2 separate regions of the Homo sapiens genome follow, and region 2 is linked to region 1. The links are contacts of gene promoters, found by promoter capture Hi-C in blood cells and fetal thymus (Javierre and others, 2016). All regions are on one chromosome and are shown on one strand. Each heading gives the region's core, a stretch centred on a gene start or on the middle of the fragment in contact. The rest is flanking DNA. Distances are from core to core; before and after follow the strand shown.

Evidence for each region. The method cuts DNA at HindIII sites, captures the fragments that hold promoters and counts their contacts. A CHiCAGO score of 5 or more calls a contact.
Region 2: a fragment that was not itself captured here is called in contact with the fragment with the promoter of CDK3 in region 1 in 1 of 17 cell types (endothelial precursors); the score reaches 6.1 in endothelial precursors.

The regions. Positions count from the first base shown.
Region 1 is chr17:75,997,168-76,004,272 of GRCh38, forward strand. CDK3 (cyclin dependent kinase 3) reads left to right here and starts at 3,688. Exons shown (of 8, transcript NM_001258.4): 1 at 3,688-3,800; 2 at 4,245-4,374; 3 at 4,707-4,784; 4 at 4,855-4,975; 5 at 5,081-5,251; 6 at 5,344-5,445; 7 at 6,028-6,231. The coding sequence starts at 4,259. TEN1 (TEN1 subunit of CST complex) reads left to right here. Exons shown (of 4, transcript NM_001113324.3): 4 at 2,974-3,419. The coding sequence ends at 3,095. It overlaps TEN1-CDK3 (TEN1-CDK3 readthrough (NMD candidate)), which reads left to right. Exons shown (of 10, transcript NR_037709.1): 4 at 2,974-4,374; 5 at 4,707-4,784; 6 at 4,855-4,975; 7 at 5,081-5,251; 8 at 5,344-5,445; 9 at 6,028-6,231. LOC124904061 (a long non-coding RNA gene) reads right to left here and starts at 3,393. Exons shown (of 2, transcript XR_007065911.1): 1 at 2,638-3,393; 2 at 1,505-2,469. RefSeq lists enhancers at 130-209, 380-429, 3,315-3,364 and silencers at 3,495-3,574, 5,927-6,127. The HindIII fragment of the contact is 39,600 bases long and covers 1-7,105 here.
Region 2 is chr17:75,944,180-75,951,168 of GRCh38, forward strand. ACOX1 (acyl-CoA oxidase 1) reads right to left here. Exons shown (of 14, transcript NM_004035.7): 9 at 6,595-6,785; 10 at 5,539-5,718; 11 at 5,316-5,421; 12 at 5,038-5,181; 13 at 4,072-4,278; 14 at 1-2,616. The coding sequence ends at 2,569. Among named protein-coding and RNA genes, the nearest start is that of FBF1, 6.6 kb to the left of the region's middle. The HindIII fragment of the contact is 407 bases long and covers 1,753-2,159 here.

The DNA.
Region 1 (7,105 bases), core at 2,438-4,937:
CATTTCAGCCACTTTCCTGGCAGCTTCACTCCTGCCCCAAGACCCCAGCCTCCACCCTCCTGGTTCTGCCAACTGTTGAGTGCAGAAAGATCACAGAACTCCAAGGATTTGGAGCTCAATGATTTCAGGGGCTCACTGGCATTCCCCTGCTCTGCCTAGAAATCCTTCCTGTGTCCTGGCCACACCCCCCTCCCCGGCGCCACCACAGCTAGTCCAGAAATTCCCCTGCCTCACAAGAACCCACTTCCTCTCCTCCCCTGTCCCTCCCGGCTTATTGCTTTATGAGCCAGCTAGAATCGAGGCCACAGGCAGCCGTTCTTCCTCCTACCATCAGACACTGAAACGGCCACCGACCATCAGACACTGAAACGGCCACCGTTAGCTCCTTCCTCTAGTCTAAGAGGAAGCGGGGTCCCTCCTACCTAAGGGGTTACCACAGTTCTTCCCTGTCCACATATAAGGTGTTCAAGCCTCCTCTATATGGAAATAATAGTCTCAATGACAAGAAGTCATCTTCTACACTAGAGTCTGACCTACCTGCCCATGACCTTCCCTCCCTTTGCAGACAAACCTCCTAAAAGAACATCTGTGCTCCGTATAACCCCTTCCTCTTCCCAGGCCTCACCCCACTGCATTCTGACTGCTTTTTATAACCCAGGCCCTTCTTCTTTGCTCCAGGTTCTTAATCTTTTTTTTTTTTTCCTGAGATGGAGTCTCGCTCTGTCACCCAGGCTGGGAGTGCAGTGGCACGATCTCTGCTTACTGCAACCTCTGCTTCCTGGGTTCAAGCGATTCTGCCTCAGCCTCCCTAGTAGCTGGGATTACAGGTGCCCGCCACCACACCCAGCTAATTTTTGTCTTTTTAGTAGAGACAGGGTTTCACCATGTTGGCCAGGCTGGTCTTCAGCTCCTGACCTCAGGTGATCCGCCTGCGTCAGCCTCCCAGAGTGCTGGGATTACAGATGTGAGCCACTGCGCCTGGCCTTTTTCCTTTTTTTTTCCTTTTTTTTTTTTTTTTGAGACAGAGTCTCATTCTGTTTCCCAGGCTGGAGTGCAGTGGCGCAATCTTGGCTCACTGCGACATCCACCTCCCCGGTTCAAGTGATTCTCGTGCCTCAGCCTCCCAAGTAGTCGGGCCTGGGTAACTTTTGTATTTTTAGTAGAGACAGGGTTTTCGCTTGTTGGCCAGGCTGGTCTTGAGCTCCTGGCCTCAAGTGATCTGCTTGTCTTGCCCTCCCAAAGTGTTGGGATTACAGTGTTGGGAGCCACCGCGCCACGCCCCGATTCCTCTCTGACCTGTGTCAGCACTGGGGCTAACAGAAGCTGAGACACACAGGCAACCTCATGTTTCAAATGAGTTCATTGCCTAAGGGTAGCCTGTATAGACAGCTAGGCAGGATGACACCCTGAATTCTGCCCTCAGGCTGTGCTATAAATGACCTAGACTAGAGGAAAGGGCAGGCAGAGCCTTTATCTCAAACAGCGTCAAAAGAAAACAATGTAATAGCCTAGAACATTGAATCTATTTATTTACTTATTTTGAGACAGAGTCTCACTCTGTTGCCCAGGCTGGAGTGCAGTGGCTTGATCTCGGCTCACTGCAACGTCTGCCTCCCAGGTTCAAGCGATTCTCCTGCCTCAGCCTCCCGAGTAGCTGGGTTTACAGGTGCCAGCTACCACACCTGGCTAATTTTTGTATTTTTAGTAGAGACGGGGTTTTGCCGTGTTGGCCAAGCTGGTCATGAACTCCTGACCTCAGGTGATCCACCCATCTCGGAAATCTATTTATTAAAGTGCTCAGAGAGCAGAAAGAGCATGAGTGCAAAAAATTTTTTTAACTTTTTTTTTTCTCTTGCAAGCTATGACTGGGGAAAAAAGAAAGAAAAAAAAAATGTCAGCAATGCACAGTGGCTCACGCCTATAATCCATGCATGTTGGGAGGCCGAGGCGGGCAGATCACTTGACCCCAGGAGTTTGAAACCAGCCTGGGCAACATGGCGAGACCCCATCTCTACAAGAAATACAAAAATTAGCTGGGTGTGGTGGTGCGTCCCTGTAGTCCCAGCTCCTCAGGAAGCTGAGATGATCACCTGAGCCTGGGAGGTGGAGGCTACATTGAGCCATGATTGAGCCACTGCATTCCAGCCCAAGTGACAGAGCAACACCCTGTCTCAAAAAAAAAATTTTTTTTTTTAGGTGGAGTCTTGCTCTGTTGCCCAGGCTGGAGTGCAGTGGCGTGATCTTGGCTCACTGCAACCTCCACCTCCTGGGTTCAAGCAATTCTCCTGCCTCAGCCTTCCAAGTAGCTGGGATTACAGGCATGCACCACTACACGCGGCTAATTTTTGTATTTTTAGTAGAGATGGGGTTTCATCATGTTGGCCAGGCTGGTCTTGAACTCCTGACCTCAAGTGTTCCACATGCCTTGGCCTCCCAAAGTGCTGAGATTACAGGTGTGAGCCAGTTCACCTGTCAAAAGAAAGAAAATTTTTAAAAAGTCTCTCGGAGATGTCTTTCCTGTTTGGTGCCACCTGAATAGTGGCAAACCTTTCCATTATGTATCAGGTCACCACCGCATCTGCTAGAAGCCCCCCTCGTCCAGGGTGGGATGACCTGCTCCTATAAAGCCAAACTTACCGGGAGCTCAGTCTCTTGGATTTTTAAAATATGGGTGTCTCTTTTCCCCGGTTCCTGATGACATTGTGTCCCAAGGTGCCAAGGGGGCCTTTCCCTCAGTCCAGAGGGGTTTTCTGACCACCTGCTAAGTTCCAGACACGGGCCGACTGTGCATGACAGGCCCACGGTTCTAGGCCCAAATACTCAGTTGCCTTTGCCCCATATGCTGTTATTGTCCACATCACTTGCTGCCAAAACCCAGGACTGAGCTGTGGAGGGAACAGCTGGAATGCACCTTGGAGGACGTTGTTGACACGCCGCTCAGTCGCCGTTCGTGCCCTGGTGTTTGTCTTGCAGACAGAGGCTCCGTGGTGAAGGCGCGCGTGCTGACCTGTGTGGAGGGGATGAACCTGCCCTTGTTGGAACAAGCCATCCGGGAGCAGAGACTGTACAAGCAGGAGCGGGGCGGCAGCCAGTAGGAAACAGCAGCCTAGCAACACCCTCACCTGCTTCAGAGCCCGAACCCTCTGGAGCTGCAGGAGCCCGGGAGAGCACAGACGCCTCCCCAGCGACGGCCTTGTCTGGAGCTCGAAAGCCGAGGGGCGGGTGATGAATCCAGCCCCTTCCCCTACTTTGGGATTGGCTCAGCAATGAGAACCCAGAAAGCATGCCATAAATCCGACAGCCCCACCCCAGGAGACTGCAGGTGGCCGAGCTTGGGCGCCGGGGCCGTGCTTGGTGTGGGGCCATGGAGGGTTCCAGAAGGTCCTGGTGAATAAAGGCCCAGGGGGCGTGCTCTTGAAGTGTGCTCGTGGTGCAGCGCCGGCGGGGGCCAGGAGGGGGAGCTGCAACCCAGGCTGTGGGCTGCAGCCTCTCAGGGCTTCTGGTGAATTCTGGGCCTGGGGCCTCAGGGTAGGGCACCAGGGGCCCAGGGGCTGGGGTGGGGGGCCCAGGATGCAGGGGTCTGCCCCTGGCCAGGCTCTGCCTTCAGAGGAGGCTGAGCGTCGTCACACGGGCCGGGCTGAGGCCCTGGGCCCTGACCGTGCAGCCTAAGACAGGACTGTGGCTTTAAGACCCTCCTGACCCCTGACCTCTGCCCCCAGTGGCCCTGGCCCCTGGGCAGCCCTTCCTGGCCGCCATGTGTACCCAGAGCCTGGGACTGGCTGGGCTGGGCAGTGACCCAGGTGGGAAAGGGTGGTCTTGCCCTCTAAGGCCCGGCACAAGTGAGAGGCCTGGGGGTCCATGTTGGGCTGGGCTGGGCGAGGGGTGGTCTCTGACTTCCTGGGGGTTCTGGCTGGGATGGGCAGGGGGCTGGGTGGGAGAGTGTGGGCCCTGCCCTCCGAGGCCGGGCATGGGCGAGAAGCCTGGGGGTCCTGGCTGAACTGGGCTGGGTGAAGGGGGCCCCCTGACCCCCTTGGGGTCCGGGCTGGGCTGGGTGAGGGGCGGTTTCCGACCCCCAGCCAGGTTCCCAGGCAGGATGAGCTGGGGTTGGGGTGGCTAGGCCGTGGGCCTTGGGAGCTGGGCAGTCTGGGCTGGGCTGGGCTGGGCAGGGCGCCACATGGAAGCTGGAGGAGCAACGGGAGCGCTGGGCGTGGGGTGCAAATTGCCCGGTGCCTTCTGTTTCCCAGGCAGCTCTGTGGCCATGGATATGTTCCAGAAGGTAGAGAAGATCGGAGAGGGCACCTATGGGGTGGTGTACAAGGCCAAGAACAGGGAGACAGGGCAGCTGGTGGCCCTGAAGAAGATCAGACTGGATTTGTGAGTGCTGGGACGGCCCCTGAGTTACCCACCCTGGGCCATCACAACCTGGGCGCTCCCTGATCCGTTCCCTCTTTCCTGGAGTCCACGTTTAACTCCTCTGGGTGCTGCCCAGCAGCCCTTACCTGTCCTCTCCCCAGTTCACTGCCTTCTGACCAGCCTTTGCCGGGGCCCTGACTGTGGAGTTTGGTGGATGACGTGCCAAGGAGCACAGGTCTCCATTGCCGGGGCCCTGGTCATTCTGTGGGGTTAAGGAGAAGCCGATCCCCCTGGCTGGAAGTGCCCTTCTTGGCCCAAGTCTCTGCCCACGGCTGTGCCCTTGTTTCTTGCAGGGAGATGGAGGGGGTCCCAAGCACTGCCATCAGGGAGATCTCGCTGCTCAAGGAACTGAAGCACCCCAACATCGTCCGGTGAGTTGGGGATTGAGGTGGGGAAGCTGGGATGGCGAAGGTAGCATCCTGACTGCCATCTCCCTGTCAGACTGCTGGACGTGGTGCACAACGAGAGGAAGCTCTATCTGGTGTTTGAGTTCCTCAGCCAGGACCTGAAGAAGTACATGGACTCCACCCCAGGCTCAGAGCTCCCCCTGCACCTCATCAAGGTAGGGAAGGAAGGGCAGGGAAGGAGAGGTGACACCCCATCCCTGCCATCCCTGTCCACGCAGCACCTCCGCTCAGCTGGCTGCACCTCGCGCTCGTTTCTCCAGAGCTACCTCTTCCAGCTGCTGCAGGGGGTGAGTTTCTGCCACTCACATCGGGTCATCCACCGAGACCTGAAGCCCCAGAACCTGCTCATCAATGAGTTGGGTGCCATCAAGCTGGCTGACTTCGGCCTGGCTCGCGCCTTCGGGGTGCCCCTGCGCACCTACACCCATGAGGTATTGTGAGACAAAGAGGAGAGAGGGGCAGCAGGAGGAGTGTCACCCATGCACTCAGCCACCCTGAGTGATACTGTTTCTTTGCCCTGCAGGTGGTGACACTGTGGTATCGCGCCCCCGAGATTCTCTTGGGCAGCAAGTTCTATACCACAGCTGTGGATATCTGGAGCATTGGTTGCATCTTTGCAGAGATGGTAGAGAGAGGGGCACACATGGCCACAGGGTGCCACAGGCAGGGTCCTACTGGGGTTGGGTGGGGTCCACTGATGCTCCCATTCGAGGCGGATTAAAGAGTGTTTGGGGCTGGACATGGCTCACGCCCGTAATCCCAGCACTTTGGGAGGCTGAGATGGGAGGATGGCTTGAGCCCAGGAGTTTGAGACCAGCCTGGGCAACGTAACAAATCCCCAGCTCTTAAAAAACTACAAAAATTAGCTGGGTGTGGTGGTGCATGCTTGTAGTCCCAGCTACTTGGGAGGTTGAGGCAGGAGGATTGCTTGAGCCTGTGGTTGAGGCTGCAGTGAGCTGTGATCGCACGACTGCACTCTAGCCTGGGTGACAGAGCAAGACTCCGTCTCTATTTTTTAAAAAAAGGTGTTTGGTACTGGCTAAAGGACTGAGGAAGGTAGCTTTATTCCAAAAGAGGCCAGAATTCTTTGCACAGTCATGGAAAAGATATCTTGACAGGCCTCTCCCTGGGTCTGGCCACTTATCTGGTATTGGATTCTGTATAACAAAGTGGCGGACCCCACACCTTCTCTTCTTCCCCATTTCAGGTGACTCGAAAAGCCCTGTTTCCTGGTGACTCTGAGATTGACCAGCTCTTTCGTATCTTTCGTATGCTGGGGACACCCAGCGAAGACACATGGCCCGGGGTCACCCAGCTGCCTGACTATAAGGGCAGCTTCCCTAAGTGGACCAGGAAGGGACTGGAAGAGATTGTGCCCAATCTGGAGCCAGAGGGCAGGGACCTGCTCATGGTAGGTGCATGTGGGCTCCAGCTGCTGCTCCGACTACAGTTTCCCCTCATCAGCCAGCCTCTTACATAACCCTGGCACTTTCTGAGTCCAAGGCCAGGGTCTCTTTCCTGACCTTTGTACACAACTGGCTTGGGTATACTGATTGTTCAACCCGGAAGCCTCCCCCAGGATAAGTGCAGTATTTATCTTCCCTGTGAAAGTGGCGCTCATTGAGTTAGCTCTGTCTTTATGCTGTGCTACACGCCCTTTTTCCCTAGTTGTCTTGTGTGTTTGGTTATTCTACTTTGTGGACATTACTGCTCCATCTAAGCTGTATGCCTCCCCAGGCTGGGGCCATACCTTCTTTTCTTTTCTTTTTTTTGAGATGGAGTTTTGCTCTTGTTGCCCGGGCTGGAGTGCAATGGCGTGATCTCAGCTCACTGCAACTTCTGCCTCCTGGGTTCAAGTCATTCTCCTGCCTCAGCCTCCCGAGTAGCTGGGACTACAGGTGCCTGCCACCACGCCCAGCTAATTTTTGTATTTTTTTTTTTAGTAGAGACAGGGTTTCACCATGTTGGCCAGACTGGTCTTGAACTCCTCAGGTGATCTGCCCACCTCGGCTTCCCAAAGTGCTGGGATTACAGGCATGAGCCACTGTGCCCGGCTGGGGCCTCTCGTTCTACTGCCTGGCTGTTCCCCTGTGACTCCTACAGTGGTCAGTCTTCAGAACAGGCTGTTCCCTACTGCCTGGGCCCATGCCACAGTTCTCACTCACCCCTCCTGTTGGTGTCTTGAGCTGACCCAGGCCGGACTGCCCAGGAAGTCTCTGGCAGAACCGTCTGTTTTTTTTTTTTTTTTTGAGACAGGGTCTCAGTCTGTCACTCAGGCTGGCGTG
Region 2 (6,989 bases), core at 706-3,205, 55 kb before region 1:
GCCAAGATCCCACCACTGCACTCCAGTCTGGGTGACAGTGATACCCTGTCTCAAAAAGATAAAAATAAAATTCCTACTCAGTAATTTTGGAGAAGACAAGGTTAAAATGTATCTTTGTACTTGTGAAAATGGCTTACAAAATTTTGAATCCAACAGACCCAAACTTGTCAGTGGCAGTCTAGTGTGGTAGAGAGAACAAACTGGACTTGCCACTTCCTTTAAGGTACAGCCAACAAATGTGTACCAAGTACTTCCAAGGACTCCTAAAGTGACTGGAGCCACTCACAACTATTGGTACAACTGCAGTAATTACAGCTGATTTACAGCTGTCCACTCAGGCAGGTATCACTCCTTCCTTTTTTGTTCTTAGTGTTCCCTAAATCTAATAAACCTCTATTCTAAATTTCTTCATAATTTAAACCTATGTTTAGTTGTGTGGCATATTTTTTCTCTCTTAATAGTACAAATCAGTGACGTTTACTCTATCTTTATTCTTGATTATATTGAATAAAGTTCAAGACAGAACATTCCAATATTAATAAAAATAGCATCAAATGTCAGATTTAGATTTTTTTTTTGAGACGGAGTCTCGCTCAGCCACCCAGGCTGCAGTGTAGTGGCACCATCTTGGCTCACTGCAACCTCTACCCGCCAAGTTCAAGCGATTATCCTGCCTCAGCCTCCCGAGTAGCTGGGACTACAGGCGCGTGCTACCACCATGCCCAGCTAATTTTTGTATTTTTTTCAGTAGAGACGGGGTTTCACCATGTTGGCCAGGATGGTCTCAAACTCCTGACCTCAGGTGATCCACCCGCTTCGGCCTCCCAAAGTGCTTGGATTACAGGCGTGAGCCACCACGCCTGGCCCCAGATTTAGATTTTAAATAAAACGTGAGGTACTGGGTCAAAGGGGGCTCTGCAGGTCGATGATCTCCTCAAACCTGCAAAGACATCCCATCTATGCAACTGGATTGGGGGGTGTCATTCCAAACACCCTCAGATCCTGCCCAGATATTCATCTGTGAACAAGGTATTTCAACACTAATTTTGAAACAATTCTACATCTAGCAGGTCAGTTTATCATTTTCCAGAATCTGAACTACTGTCAGGATAGACTCAAGTGAGATTAACACAGGGTTAATCTTCAATCTTAACACAATTATCAATTAGTTCTCCCAGTGGAACGATTAAGGCTTTTGTCAACATGTAGCATTTCTGCTGTAACCTATAAGTCTCATATTACCAGTTCCCCAGGATAGATAGATATTATGTCAGGTCCCAAGATAGGAGTTATGTTTCCATGGAATTAAGCCATATTCTCAGGACTGATTCTAGAACAGCTGGTTTCATGAGGCATATGGCGTAGATTAAAAAAAAACAAAACAAAGTGACTTACATTGACTTTAAGAAAAAATTAATTAAGATGTATTTAACCTTTAAGTATAGAATGATTGTATAAATTAGATTTCAACTGAAAGGACAATTAGCGATTCAGAGAAAGCTCCTAGAAATAGACTGAAAACAAAGCCATACATAGAGTAAGAAATAGAACCTATGGAACTTCCATTTTTCTAACTATAGTTTTTTGTTTTTGTTTTTTCCCAGTTGTTAAAAAAAAAACAACTCACAGTTTCAATATTTTCTGAACCAAAAATCAGAACACATGGTTTGTGTCAAAGGGTTTTTCTGTGCTACGTCTGGGAGTGCTGACCTAAGTGACATTTTTTTTTAATGCCAAATACAGTAATCTCCAAGCTTTTAATGGCTTATGCCAAGATGACAGAATATGTGAAATCTGATTGTCCCAGAGTTACACTCTGCACTCCAAAGCTACAACAGTGCCACAGCTGAGAGGTTTCCCTATACTTCCTACTACTGTGACAATTTAGCAATCCTTCAAATGGAAAATTCCTAATTACACGAGACAATGGTCCTACAGTAGGCCCGTGCGGAATAAGTTCCCTCGTTGGAAAAATGCTAGCATGAATAGTTTGATAAATGCAATCCATCAGCAAAGGAGAGCAAGCAGGCAGAGACTGTGCCAAGCAGAAACTCATTCGCATCAAGTTTTCCAATAAGTTTCCTTCCCCCAGTCCCTTTTCTTCAATCCTGCTTTTAAGCCAGGCCCCAGGGTAAGTCTGGTAGAACACTGAGCAGGAAAGCTTGGAAGGGTTCTACACCACTTCAAAAATACCTTTGCTTAAAAACACTTATATAGCCAGTGATTAGCAATTAAAATGTGAAAATAATCAACTACTCAGTAGTTAAATTCTGCTAATTATCAAAAGTCATAGTCTACTGGGATCAGCAGCATTACAAAAGGAAGTCATATCGCATTTCTTAAGCTTTTTCTGAATGGTTTAACAGGTCTCTTTCAGTGTTAATTGCACTTAAAACATCTGCTTTTTTTCATTTAATCTCTGAAATCTGTTCATTTTTTCCCTCCATTTATAAAAAGGGGTCAATTTATCATTTGCTCTATAGCTATTTGAATTCGAAAAAGATTCCACAAAATTTGAGTTGCACACAGGCGCTTTCTGAAGCAGATTAAACTTGTCCTTGTGACACTTCAGAGCTTGGACTGCAGTGACTTCAGGTGCTTGTAAGATTCGTGGACCTGTGGGGAAAGGAGAGAGAAGAACTACTAATAAAGAGTTTGCCATGTTAAATAGTATACTGTTTTTTGTTTTTGTTTTTGTTTTTTTTTTGAGACTGAGTCCTGCTCTGTTGCTCAGGCTGGAGTGCAGTGGCACAATCTTGGCTCACTACAGCCTCTGCCTCCCAGACTCCAGCGATCTTCCCACCTTAGCCTCCCGAGTTGCTAGAACTACAGGTGTGTGCCATGACACCTGGCTGCTATTTGTATTTTTTTGTAGAGATGGGGGTTTACCATGTTGGCCAGGCTGGTCTAGAACTCCTCAATTCAAGTGATCCACCCACCTCAGCCTCCCAAAGTGCTAGGATTACAGGCGTGAGCCACTGTGCCCAGCCTGTGGTTGTTTCTGAAGAGTCCTTATCTTTTAGAGCTATGCATTGAATTATTTATGGATAAAATTATCTGATGTCTTAGTTTTTTTTTTTTTTTTGAAACGGAGCCTCGCTCTTGTTGCCCAGGCTGGAGTGCAATGGCATGGTCTCGGCTCACCGCAACCTCCGCCTCCCAGGCTCAAGCAATTCTCCTGTCTCAGCCTCCCAAGTAGCTGGGATTACAGGCATGCGCCACCACGCCTGGCTAATTTTGTATTTTTAGTAGAAACAAGGTTTCTCCATGTTGGTCAGGCTGGTCTCAAACTCCCGACCTCAGGTGATCCACCTGCCTCGGCCTCCCAGGTGTGCATCACTGAGCCTGGCCCTGATGTCTTAGATTTATTTCAAAATAGTCCCCAGGAGGAGGGGGATGAAGGTTCAGATGAAACACAACTAGCCACGAGTTGATAGTCATTGCTGCTAGACAAAGGGTGTACCAAAGAGCACTACGGAATTCTCTTTTTGTATATTTTATTCTATTTGTGTGTGTGTGTGTGTGTGTATACTTTTTTTTTTTTTTTGAGACAGAGTTTTGCTCTTGTCACCCAGGCTGGAGTGCAATGGCACGAACGTGGCTCACTGCAACCTCCGCCTCCTGGGTTCTCCTGGGTTCAAGCTGAGGCAGGAGAATTCCCGAGTAGCTGGGACTACAGCCGTGCACCATTACTGCCTGGCTGCTTTTTTTGTATTTTTAGTAGAGATTGGGTTTCGCCATTTTAGCCAGGCTAGTCTCGAACTCCTGACCTCAGGTGATCTGCCCACTCGGCCTCCCACAGTGCTGGGATTACAGGTGTGAGCCAACGCACCCGGCCTGTATATATTTTTAAATGTTCAATTCGTTATCAAAAATTGAAATTGATTAAGACCCTGGTTACTGTGGGAACAACCCAGTTCCCTTCTGAACCTGTTGCTCAAATAAAGTGACTGTCAGAAGTGGCCATGGTACTTTCAGAGCTTTCACAGATAAATCCCCTTCGAGAGGCCTTTCCTGCTTCAATATTTAAGTGAAGACTTTTAAAAAGGTGCAGAGACACTGGATTTTTACCTCTGCTTTGTTCAGTGGGGAGTTCTTAGCCCACTCAAACAAGTTTTCATACACATTCCCATCATAGCGGCCAAGCACAGAGCCAAGTGTCACATCCTGAAAATCAAATGCATCAACCAAAGCAACAGCATCTGAGCGAATCAGAGTGAGTAACTCCTTTACACGCTGGTTTACTTGTGTAATCTGAGGCTCTGTCATGATGCTCCCCTAAAAGAGACCAAAATAAGTAAATAAAACATATATATGTATATAGATAGACATAATTATATGCATATACAGCTATAAAGCGGATGACAATTATTTTTTTCTTTTTTTTTTTTTGAGACTGAGTTTCACTCTTGTTGCCCAGGCTGGAGTACAATGGTGTGATCTTGGCTCACCGCAATCTCCGCCTCCCAGGTTCAAGCAATTCTCCTCCCTTGGCCTCCCAAATAGCTGGAATTACAGGCATGCGCCAGCACACCTGGCTAATTTTGTATTTTTAGTAGAGATGGGGTTTCTCCATGTTGGTCAGGCTGGTCTCGAACTCCCGACCTCAGGTGATCTGCCCGCCTTGGCCAAAGTGTTGGGATTACAGGCATGAGCCACTGTGCCTGGCTATTTTTCTTTTTCTTTTTTTTTTTTTTTGAGACAGAGTATTGCTCTGTCACCCAGGCTGGAATGCAGTGGTTTCATCTTGGCTCACTGCAACCTCTGCCTCCAGGGTTCAAATGATTCTCGTGCCTCAGCCTCCCTAGTAGCTGGGATTACAGGCATGTGCCACTGCACCTGGCTAATTTTTGTATTTTTAGTAGAGACAGGGTTTCACCAGGCCAGGCTGGTCTTGAACTCCTGACCTCAAGTGATCACCGTACCCGCCTTGGGCTCCCAAAGTGCTGGGATTACAGGCATGAGCCACCGTGCCCAGCCAACAATTATTTTTCTTAAAACAACAACAAAAAAGACTTATACTTAGAAAATACTGACCTGAAGGAAATCCCCCGCGTTCTGACTGATTCCATACAGAGAATACAGCAGACATAAACTCCTTAAGACAGCTTGAATGGCTTTATCTTGAATTTTGAGGAGTTTTTCTGAAAAGAGCTTAACTACCACATAGTGGCAATGTGCCTAAGATTAAAAAGAAAACACCAGAGTTTGAGAACCTTGGAAAAAGATTCAATATACAGTGACTAGGGTTTCTGTACCAGAAAATGCGGGATGCTGAGGGCAGGGAAGGGGAAAAAGAGAGAACTACCACTGACCTCACTTGCTCGAACAAGGTCAACAGAAGTTAGGTTCCAAGCTACCTCCTTGCTTTTTCTGTGAATCACTTCTTTTTGAAGGTTTTTTGCAGCAATTTCTACTAATCTGTTAAGACATAGATTGGAGGTCTGAGGAAATGATCAACAGTACTCATGCCTTCTTGCCATCTGTCAGGGCCCCAGCCCCACTGCTGCGTATTCTAGCTCTTGAGGGAGAGCTCACCTGGCTGCACGGAGTTTATATGCTTCGGTTAGGCTTTCGGGGCTGTTGATATCCACCATGGTTGGCCAGACTGCTACCTGCTGTGGCTGGATGCGCTGACTGGGCAGGTCGTTCAAATAGGACACCATGCCACACACCAACTTTCCTGAGTGCACCTGATCATAACTTTTCATCAGGAACCTAAAAGTCACCAGTAAACATGCTTTTAGTAACTCTACTTTCTTTTGTTTCTTTTGAGATGGAGTTTCATTCTTGTTGCCTAGGCTGGATGGAGTGCAATGGCCAGATCTCAGCTCACTGCAACCTCCTCCTCTTGGGTTCAAATGAATGATTCTCCTGCCTCAGCCTCCCAAGTAGCTGGGACTACAGGCACCTGCCACCATTCCTGGCTAATTTTTAATATTTTGTTTTTTTAGTAGAGACAGGGTTTTACCATGTTGGCCAGGCTGGTCTCTTAACTCCTGACCTCAAGTGATCTACCCGGCTTGGCGTCCCAAAGTGCTGGGATTACAGGAGTAAGCCACCACACCTGGCCTTTTTTTTTTTGATGGAGTTTTCGCTCTTGTTGCCCAGGATGGAGTGCAATAGCGCAATCTTGGCTCACTGCAACCTCCGCTTCCCAGGTTCAAGCGATTCTTCTGCCTCAGCCTCCCAAGTAGGCCGGGATTACAGGCAATGTGCCATCATGCCCGGCTAATTTTTTTGTATTTTTTTAGTAGAGACACGGTTTCACCATGTTGATCAAGCTGGTCTTGAACTCCTTACCTCATGATCTGCCCACCTCAGCTTCCCAAAGTGCTGGGATTACAGTCATGAGCCACTGTGCCCAGCCCAGTAACTCTATCCTTGATACAACTGCAAGCTATGTAACAGGTGCTTCATACTCTCTAGCCTCACCACGAAATAAAAACCGTGAGTCAGGATGGAAGGCAAAAGTATACCTTTCAGGAACAAATATATATATACGGTGAAGAAAAACCATGGGAACAAGAACCTAGGAAAAGGACTAGAACATTCTTATGAACAGATGGGAGGAATCGAGGATTTGACTCTCACCTAGCCGTCTGGAGCATCATGACAGTGTTTTCTCCCTCAAAGGTACAGCTTGGGGTGAAATTGACATAAATATTTGGAAGACCACTGCAATGAGAATAGCCATGCCCACCACAAGCCATCCGACATGCTTCAATGCCAGTGTTTGCAGTCCAGGAGGTGAAAGCCTTCAGTCCAGCGGTGAGGGCATGAAGCTGAGAGGACAAGCACAGATCTGTCAGGACATCTGTGGTGCTGAGAGCCCGAGAACCAATGAGAAAACACACCCCTCCTCTAACATCTTGGCCACTGTCAAAACACAGCTGCCACACATGCAAACTGAAGAAGCACAGCTGTCCGACTGGCCAGAAGAATACAGAACACTACCCATGCCCATCTAAGCTGTTCTACTTGGCTAA